2 separate regions of the Homo sapiens genome follow, and region 1 is linked to region 2. Evidence: promoter capture Hi-C in human tissues and cell types (Jung and others, 2019). All regions are on one chromosome and are shown on one strand. Each heading gives the region's core, a stretch centred on a gene start or on the middle of the fragment in contact. The rest is flanking DNA. Distances are from core to core; before and after follow the strand shown.

Region 1 (4,256 bases), core at 878-3,377, 140 kb before region 2:
TCTCTGATGAGCATTTTCTCATATGTTTACTTGTGTGTGTTCTTTCGAGAAGTGTCTGTTCATGTCCTTTGCCCATTTTTCATGGGGTAGCTTTTTGCTTGTTGATTTAAGTTCCTTATAGAGTCTTGATATTAGATCTTTGTCAGATGCATAGTTTGCAAATATTTTCTCCCATTCTGTAGGTAGTCTGTTTACTGATGGCTTCTTTGGCTGTGCAGAATCTCTTTAGTTTAATTAGGTCCCACTGGTCCATTTTTTTTTGTTTTTGTTGCAATTGCTTTTGGGGACTTAGCCAAAAATTCTTTGCCAAGGTTGATGTCAACAAGGGCATTTCCTAGGTTTTCTTCTAGAATTTGTTTTCAATTTTTATGTTTATTTATTCTTTTTTAATTTTTTAAAATTTTGTGGGTGCATATTAGATATATATACTTATGGCGTACATGGGATGTTTTGATACAGGCATGCAATGTGAAATAAGCACATCATGGATAATGGAGTATCCATCCCCAGAAGCATTTATCTTTCAAGTTACAAATAATGCAATTACACTCTTTAAATTATTTTTAAATGTACAATTAAGTTATTTTTATTATAGTCACCCTGTTGTGCTATCAAATAGTAGGTCTTATTCATTCTTTTTATTTTTTTGTACCCATTAACCATCCTCATCTCCCCCCAACAGCCCCCACTACACTTCCCAGCCCCTCCTCCATGAGTTCTATTGTTTTGATTTTTAGATCCCACAAATAAGTGAGAACATGCAATGTTTGTCTTTCTGTGCCTGGCTTATTTCACTTAACATAATAAACTCCAGTTCCATTCATGTTGTTGCAAGTGACTGGATCTCATTATTTTTATGGCTGACGAGTACTCCATTGTGTATATGCACCACATTTTCTTTATCCATCCATCTGCTGATGGACATTTAGGTTGCTTCCAAATCTTAGTAAACAGTGCTGGAACCAACATAGGAGTGCAGATATCTCTTCTATATACTAATTTCCTTTCTTTGGGGCATATTTTCTAGGATTTTTATAGGTTGAAGTCTTGCATTTAAAACTTTAATCCATCTTCAGTTAGTTTTTATGTATGGTGAAAGGTAAGGGTCTGGTTTCATTCTTCTGCATATGGCTAGCCAGTTATCCCAGCACCATTTATTGAAAAGAAAGTCCTTTCCCCATTGCTTGTTTTTCTTGGTCTTGTCAAAGATCAGATATTTTTAAGTGTAAGGCTTTATTTCAGAAGTTTCTATTCTGTTCCATTTGTCTATGTGTCTGTTTTTGTGTCGATACCATGCTGTTTTGGTTACTATAGCTTTATAGGATAGTTTGAAGTCAGGTAGTGTGATGTCTCTGGCTTTGTTCTTTTTACTTGGGGCTACTTTTGCTATTCAGGCTATTTTTTGGTTCCACGTGAATTCAGAGTAGTTTTTTTCTAATTCTGTGATGGATGACATTGGTAATTTGATAGAAATAGTGTTGAATCTGTAAGCCACTTTGGGGAATATGACCGTTTTAATAATATTGATCTTACAATTCATGAACATGGGATGTTTTTCCACTTATTTGTGCCATCTCTGGTTTCTTTGAGCAGTGATTTGTAGTTCTCCTTGTAGAAATTTTTCACCTCTCCTTGGTTAGCTGTATTCCTAGGTATTTCATTTTCTTTGTGGCTATTGTAAATGGGGTTGTGTTCTTGATTTATTCTCAGCTTGAATACTATTGGTGTATAGAAATGCTACTAGTTTTGTATATTGATTTTGTATCCTGAAATCTTACTAAAACTGTTTATCAGCTCTATTAACCTTTTGGCAGAGTCTTTAGGGTTTTCTGCATTTTAAAATGAGCATTCTGGCTGCTGCAGGAAGATAAGAATGATCTAGTTAGGAGGCTTTGACAACAGTCCGTGAGATATATACTATGGCGTGGCCTAGAGATGATGAGAAGTGATCAGATTTAGGATACACTGTAAAGGTACAGCCAATACATCTATCTGATGTAAAATAGAAAAATAGAGGAAGTAGTCATTATTCTAAGGTTTTGGAGCAACTGGGTGAATGATAGCACAATTTAATGTGATGGGAGATAATAGATTTTGGGTGTGTTTGGAATTAAGAATTTACTTTCGGAGAACCCAGCAGAGCTGGTTGAGCTTTCAAATGTGCGGTTGTGGGTTCGGGGTTTATTGGTTGAATTCCGCTGGCTCAGGAGCCTCTGCAGAGAAAGCGTGAGAGATGGAGATGGGCAAATGGATTCATTTAGAGCTGCGGAACAGGACGCCCTCCGATGTGAAAGAACTTTTCCTGGACAACAGTCAGTCAAATGAAGGCAAATTGGAAGGCCTCACAGATGAATTTGAAGAACTGGAATTATTAAATACAATCAACATAGGCCTCACCTCAATTGCAAACTTGCCAAAGTTAAACAAACTTAAGAAGCTTGAACTAAGCAGTAACAGAGCCTCAGTGGGCCTAGAAGTATTGGCAGAAAAGTGTCCAAACCTCATACATCTAAATTTAAGTGGCAACAAAATTAAAGACCTCAGCACAATAGAGCCCCTGAAAAAGTTAGAAAACCTCGAGAGCTTAGACCTTTTCACTTGCGAGGTAACCAACCTGAACAACTACTGAGAAAAGATGTTCAAGCTCCTCCTGCAACTCACATATCTCAACGGCTGTGACCCGGATGACAAGGAGGCCCCTAACTCGGATGGTGAGGGCTTTGTGGAGTGCCTGGATGACAAGGAGGAGGATGAGGATGAGGAGGAGTATGATGAAGATGCTCAGGTAATGGAAGATGAGGAGGACGAGGATGAGGAGGAGGAACGTGAAGAGGAGGACGTGAGTGGAGACGAGGAGGAGAAGGATGAAGGTTATAACAATGGAGAGGTAGATGATGAGGAAGATGAAGAAGAGCTTGGTGAAGAAGAAAGGGGTCAGAAGCGAAAATAAGAAACTGAAGATGAGGGAGAAGACGATGCCTAAGTGGAATAATCTATTTTGAAAAATTCCTTTTGTGATTTTACTGTTTTTAGCCGTATCCCCTCCCCCACTCCAATCCTGCCCCCTGAAACTTATTTTTTTCTGATTGTAACGTTGCTGTGGGAGCAAGAGAGGAAAAGTGTACTGGGGGTTGTGAGGGAAGGGAGGGGAGGAGGGGGTGGAATAAAATACTATTTTTACTGCCACTCTTTATTTTTTCCCCCTACTTTTTCCTTGTGTCCAGTTTTTGTCCCTGTAAATGCAATAGTTAAGTACACACTAAGCATTTGTTCCTGGCTCTCAAAGAAGATGGTTTGGAGTTCTCTTATGTTTCCTGGTATTTTCCAAGTCTCAGGTTGGGTGGAAGTCCGCGGCTGGTCTCAGTTTGGTTACTCAACACCCAGAAGGGTCTGAGCACCAGCCATAGCTTTTGCTTTGATTCACATGCTTTTCGCGGAACTGCTAGAGGCATCCAACACCCTGGTTTGTAAATAGCAACCTAAAGGTGTATTTTGGCACTGGTTTGGGGACATTCCCCATCTCTCATCCCTTTTCCCCCTTCACAGATCGTGGTGGGCTTCCTTCTACAAAGAGGACTCAGATGTTACTCTTGAGAGCTTAAGAGCCAGAGAGCTGAAAATGGCAGTCTTGTGAGTTACAAGGAAAATGGATTTGGTAATAATAATTAAAAGTGAAGAAACAAACCCTCAAACTTCAACTTCTTTACAAGAAAAAAAAACTGTCCTATCTTGTTCTGTAAAATATTAGAATGCTTTGTTTTACAAAAATGATGAGAGAATTCTTCTACATGTATTTCTGTGCTTAGAACAATTTTATGGAGCCAGGTGGAGGAGCCAAGATGGCCGAATGGGAACAGCTCTGGTCTACAGCTCCCAGCATGAGCGATACAGAAGACAGGTGATTTCTGCATTTCCAACTGAGGTACTGGGTTCATCTCACTGGGGAGTGCCAGACAGTAGGTGCAGGACAGTGGGTGCAGCACACAGTGCATGACCCGAAGCAGGGCGAGGCATCATCTCACCCAGGAAGTGCAAGGGGTCAGGGAATTCCCTTTCCTAGTCCAAGAAAGGGGTGACAGATGGCACCTGGAAAATCGGGTCACTCCCACCCTAGTACTGCGCTTTTCCAATGGGCTTAAAAAAAGCACACCAGGAGATTATATCCCACACATGGCTCGGAGGGTCCTACGCCCACAGAGTCTCGCTCATTGCTAGCACAGCAGTCCGAGATCAAACTGCAAGGTGGCAGCAAGGCT
Region 2 (4,120 bases), core at 669-3,168:
CTTTTTTTATTTTTGCTGGTTTAAAATTAGTTTTGTTAGAAACTAGGATTGCAACCCCTGATTTTTTCTGCTTTCCACTTGCTTGGTAAACTTTCCTCCATCCCTTTATTTTGAGTCTGTGTGTCTTTGCAAATGAGATGTGTCTCTTGAAGACAGCATACCAACGGGTCTTATCTCTTTATCCAGTTTGCCATTCTGTGTCTTTTAATTGGGGCATTTAGCCCATTAACATTTAAGGTTAGTGTTGTTATGTGTGAATTTGATCCTGTCATCATGATGCTAGCTGGTTATTTTGCAGACCTTGTTTATGTGGTTGCTTCATATTGTCACTGGTCTGTGTACTTCACTGTATTTTTATAGTGGCTGGTAGTGGTTTTCTTTTCCATATTTAGTGCTTCCTTCAGGAGCTCTTGCAAGGCAGGCCTGGTGGTGATAAATTCCCTAAGCATTTGCTTCTCTGAAAAGGGTCTTAGTTCTCCTTTGCATATGAAGCTTAGCTTGGCTAGATATAAAATTCCAGGTTGGAAATTCTTTTCTTTAAGAATGTTGAATATTGGCCCTCAATCTCTTCTGGCTTGTATGGTTTCCACTGAGAGGTTTGCTGTTAGTCTGATGGGTTTTCCTTTGTAAGTGACCTAGCCTTTCTTTCTGGCTGCCCTTAACATTTTTTTCTTTCATGTAGACCTTGGAGACTCTGAGGATTATGTGTCTTGGGGTTGATCTTCTCGTGGAGTATCTTACTGGAGTTTTCTGCATTTCCTGAATTTGAATGTTGGTCTGTCTTGCTAGGTTGCAGAAGTTCTCCTGGATGATATTCTGTAGTATGTTTTCCAACTTGGCTCCATTTGCCCCATCTCTTTCAGGTACCCCAATCAGTCATAGGTTAGGTCTTTTTAAACAGTCTCATATTTCTCTGAGGTTTTGTTCATTCCTTTTCATTCTTTTTTGCCTGTCTTATTCAGAAAGATTGTCTTCAAGCTCCGAGATTATTACTATTCTTGTCTGCCTGTCTTATTTCAGCAAGATAGTCTTGAAGCTCTGAGATTCTTTCCTCCACTTGGTCTATTCTGCTACTGATACTTGTGACACATTGTGATGTTCTCATGTTGTGTTTTCAGCTCCATCAGGTCTGTTTTGTTCCGCTCTAAACTGGCTATTCTGGCTATTAGCTCCTGTATTGTTTCATTTTGTATTTTGTAGAGGTGGAGATTTGCTCTGTCACCCAGGCTGGAGTGCAGTGGCCTGATCTCAGCACACTGCAACCACTGCCTCCTGAGTTCACTGGTTCTCCTGCCTCAGCCTCCCAATTAGCTGGGATTACAGGCAAGCACCACTGTGCCCAGCTAATTTTTTTGTATTTTTGGTACAGACAGTTTTCATCATGTTGGCCAGTCTGGTCTCAAACTCCTGACCTCATGATCTGCCTGCCTCAGCCTCCAAAGTCCTGGGATTATAGGCATGAACCACTGCACCCAGCCTCCTATATTGTTTTATCATGATTCTTAGCTTCTTTGCATTGGGTTAGAACATGCTCTTTTAGTTCAGTGAGGTTCATTATTACCCATCATCTGAAGCCTACTTCTGTCAATTCAGCCATCTCAGCCTGAGCCCAGTTTTGTGTCCTTGCTGGAAAAGTGTTGTGGTCATTTGGAGGAAAAAAGGCCCTCTGGCTTTTTGAGTTTTCAGCTTCTTTGCATTGATTCTTCCTCATCTTTGTGGGCTTATCAACCTTGAATCTTTGAGGTTGCTAACCTTTGAACAGACTTCTTGTGGGGTCTTTTTTGTTGATGTTGTTGCTGTTGTTTTCTGTTTGTTTGTTTGCTTGTTTGTTTTTCTCTTAACAGTCAAGCTACACTACTGTAGGGCTTCTGTGGTTTGCTGGGGGTCCACTTCAGACCCTAGTTGCCTTGTTTTTTCCAGTACTTGGAGGTATCACCAGTGAAGGCTGCAAAACAGCAAAGATGGCTGCCAGCTCCTTCCTCTGGAAACTTTGTCCCAGGTGGGTACTGACCTGTTGCTGGCCCAAACACACTGGTAGGAGGTGTCTGGAGACCCCTGTTGGGAGGTCTCACCCAGTCAGGAGGAATGGGATCAGGGACCCACTTAAATAAGCAATCTGTGCCGGGCACAGTGGGCTCATGCCTGTAATCCAACACCCTGGGAGGCCGAGGCAGGTGGATCACGAGGTCAGGAGATCGAGACCATCCTGGCTAACATGGTGAAACCCCATCTCCACTAAAAAAAAACAAAAAAAAAAAATTAGCCAGGTGTGGTGGCAGGTGCCTGTAGTCCCAGCTACTCGGGAGGCTGAGGCAGGAGAATGGCATGAACCTGGGAGGTGGAGCATGCAATGAGCCGAGATCATGCCACTGCACTCCAGCCTGGGGGACAGAGTGAGACTCCGTCTCAAAAATAAATAAATAAATAAGCAATCTGACTGCTTTTTGATAGAGCAGGTGTGCTGCACTGGGGGGAGCCCTTCCTTGTCCAGACTGTTTGTATTCTCCAAAGCCGATAGGCTGGAAAAGACTGAGTCAACCAAACCACAAAGACAGCAGCTGCACCTCCCCCAGGGGCTCTATCCCAGGGAGAGATCAGAGCTTTTTCTGTAGAACCCTAGCTGGAGTGGCTGAAGCTCCCACAGAGAGGTTGCACCCAGTGAGGAAGAATGAACTGGGGTCCCGCTTAAAGAAGCAGTCTGACCACAGTCTGGCAAGGTGGCTGTGTTGCTTTGTGAGGGACTTTTCCTCATCCAGACTTTATATTCTCCAAAACCAGCAGACTGGAATGGCTGAGTCTACCAAACTACAGCAATTATGAGTTTAATTTCTTTTATAGATATAAGATTATTCAGATTTGTATTAATTCTTATGTCATTCTGGTCATTAGCATCTTTCAAGTAATTTAAAAATTTTATTTAAATTGTCAAATGTATTGGCATAAGGTTGTTCATAATACTGCCTTTTAATTCTTTTAATATCTGTAGGGTTTGTAGTGATACCTCTTCTTTTGTTTATTGATATTGATAATTTGTGTTTGTCTGGGTTTAAGTCAATTTAGCTGATAATTTATCAATTTTATTGATTTTTTTCAAAGAGCTAATTTTTTGCCTGTAATCCCAGCAATTTGGAAGGCCAGACCACTTGAGCCTAGGAGTCCAAGACCAGCCTGGGCAACATGGTGAAACCCTGACTCTACAAAAAATCTAAAACATTAGCCAGGCATGGTGGTGTATACCTGTAGTTCCAGCTACCTGGGAGGCTGAGATGGGAGGATCACCTGAGCCCAAGAGGTTGAGGCTGCAGTGAGCCATGATCATATCACTGCACTCCAGCCTGAATGACAGAACAATACCCTGTTTCAAATTTTTAAAAACTAATTTTTGTTTTATTGGTTTTTCTCCTTTATATTCATTGATTTCCATTCTTTGTTATTTTCTCTGTTCTATTTACTCTGAGTCCATCTTGCTTTTCCTGATCTACCTTGTTAAAGTGGAAGCTTAAATTATTGGTTTTAAATATTTATCTTTCTAACATAAGCATTTAAAGACATAAAGTTTCTTCTAAGCACTGATTTAGCAGCATTTCACAATTTTTCATATGTAATTATTATAATTTAGTTCAAAATATTTTCTAATTTCCCTTGTGATTTCTTCCTTTACTCATGGGTTATTTAAACACACATTGCATGCGAGGCACAATGGCTCATGCCTGTAATCCCAGCACTTTGGGAGGCCAAGGCAGGAGAATTTTTTGGGGCCAGGGGTTTGAGACCAGCCTGGGCAATATAGCAAGACCTTGTCTCTACAAAAAAAAAAAAAACTTAATTAAGCAGATATAGTGGCACATGCCTCTAGTCCCAGCCACTCAGGAGGCTGCAACAGGAAGATTATTTGAGTCCAGGAGTTTGAGGTTACAGTAAGCTATGATCACACCACTGCACTGCAGCCTGCGCAACGGAGTGAGACTATGTCTCTCAAAAAATCATAATAATAGGCTGGGCGCACATCTATAATCCCAGCTCACATCTATAATCCCAGCACTTTGGGAGGCCGAGGCGGGTTCATGAGGTCAGGAATTTGAGACCAGCCTGGCCAACATGGTGAAACCCCGTCTGTACT

Evidence for each region. The method cuts DNA at HindIII sites, captures the fragments that hold promoters and counts their contacts. A contact is called where the count stands out against the background at its distance.
Region 1: the fragment with the promoter of ANP32D here is called in contact with a fragment that was not itself captured in region 2 in 1 of the 25 tissues and cell types used here (liver).

Annotation. Positions count from the first base shown.
Region 1 is chr12:48,470,432-48,474,687 of GRCh38, forward strand. ANP32D (acidic nuclear phosphoprotein 32 family member D) reads left to right here and starts at 2,128. Exons shown (of 1, transcript NM_012404.3): 1 at 2,128-3,191. The coding sequence starts at 2,234. The coding sequence ends at 2,629. It also overlaps a transcript of C12orf54 not described here. The HindIII fragment of the contact is 6,491 bases long and covers 1-3,748 here.
Region 2 is chr12:48,613,344-48,617,463 of GRCh38, forward strand. No RefSeq gene overlaps it. Among named protein-coding and RNA genes, the nearest start is that of SNORA2C, 39 kb to the right of the region's middle. The HindIII fragment of the contact is 5,812 bases long and covers 1-4,120 here.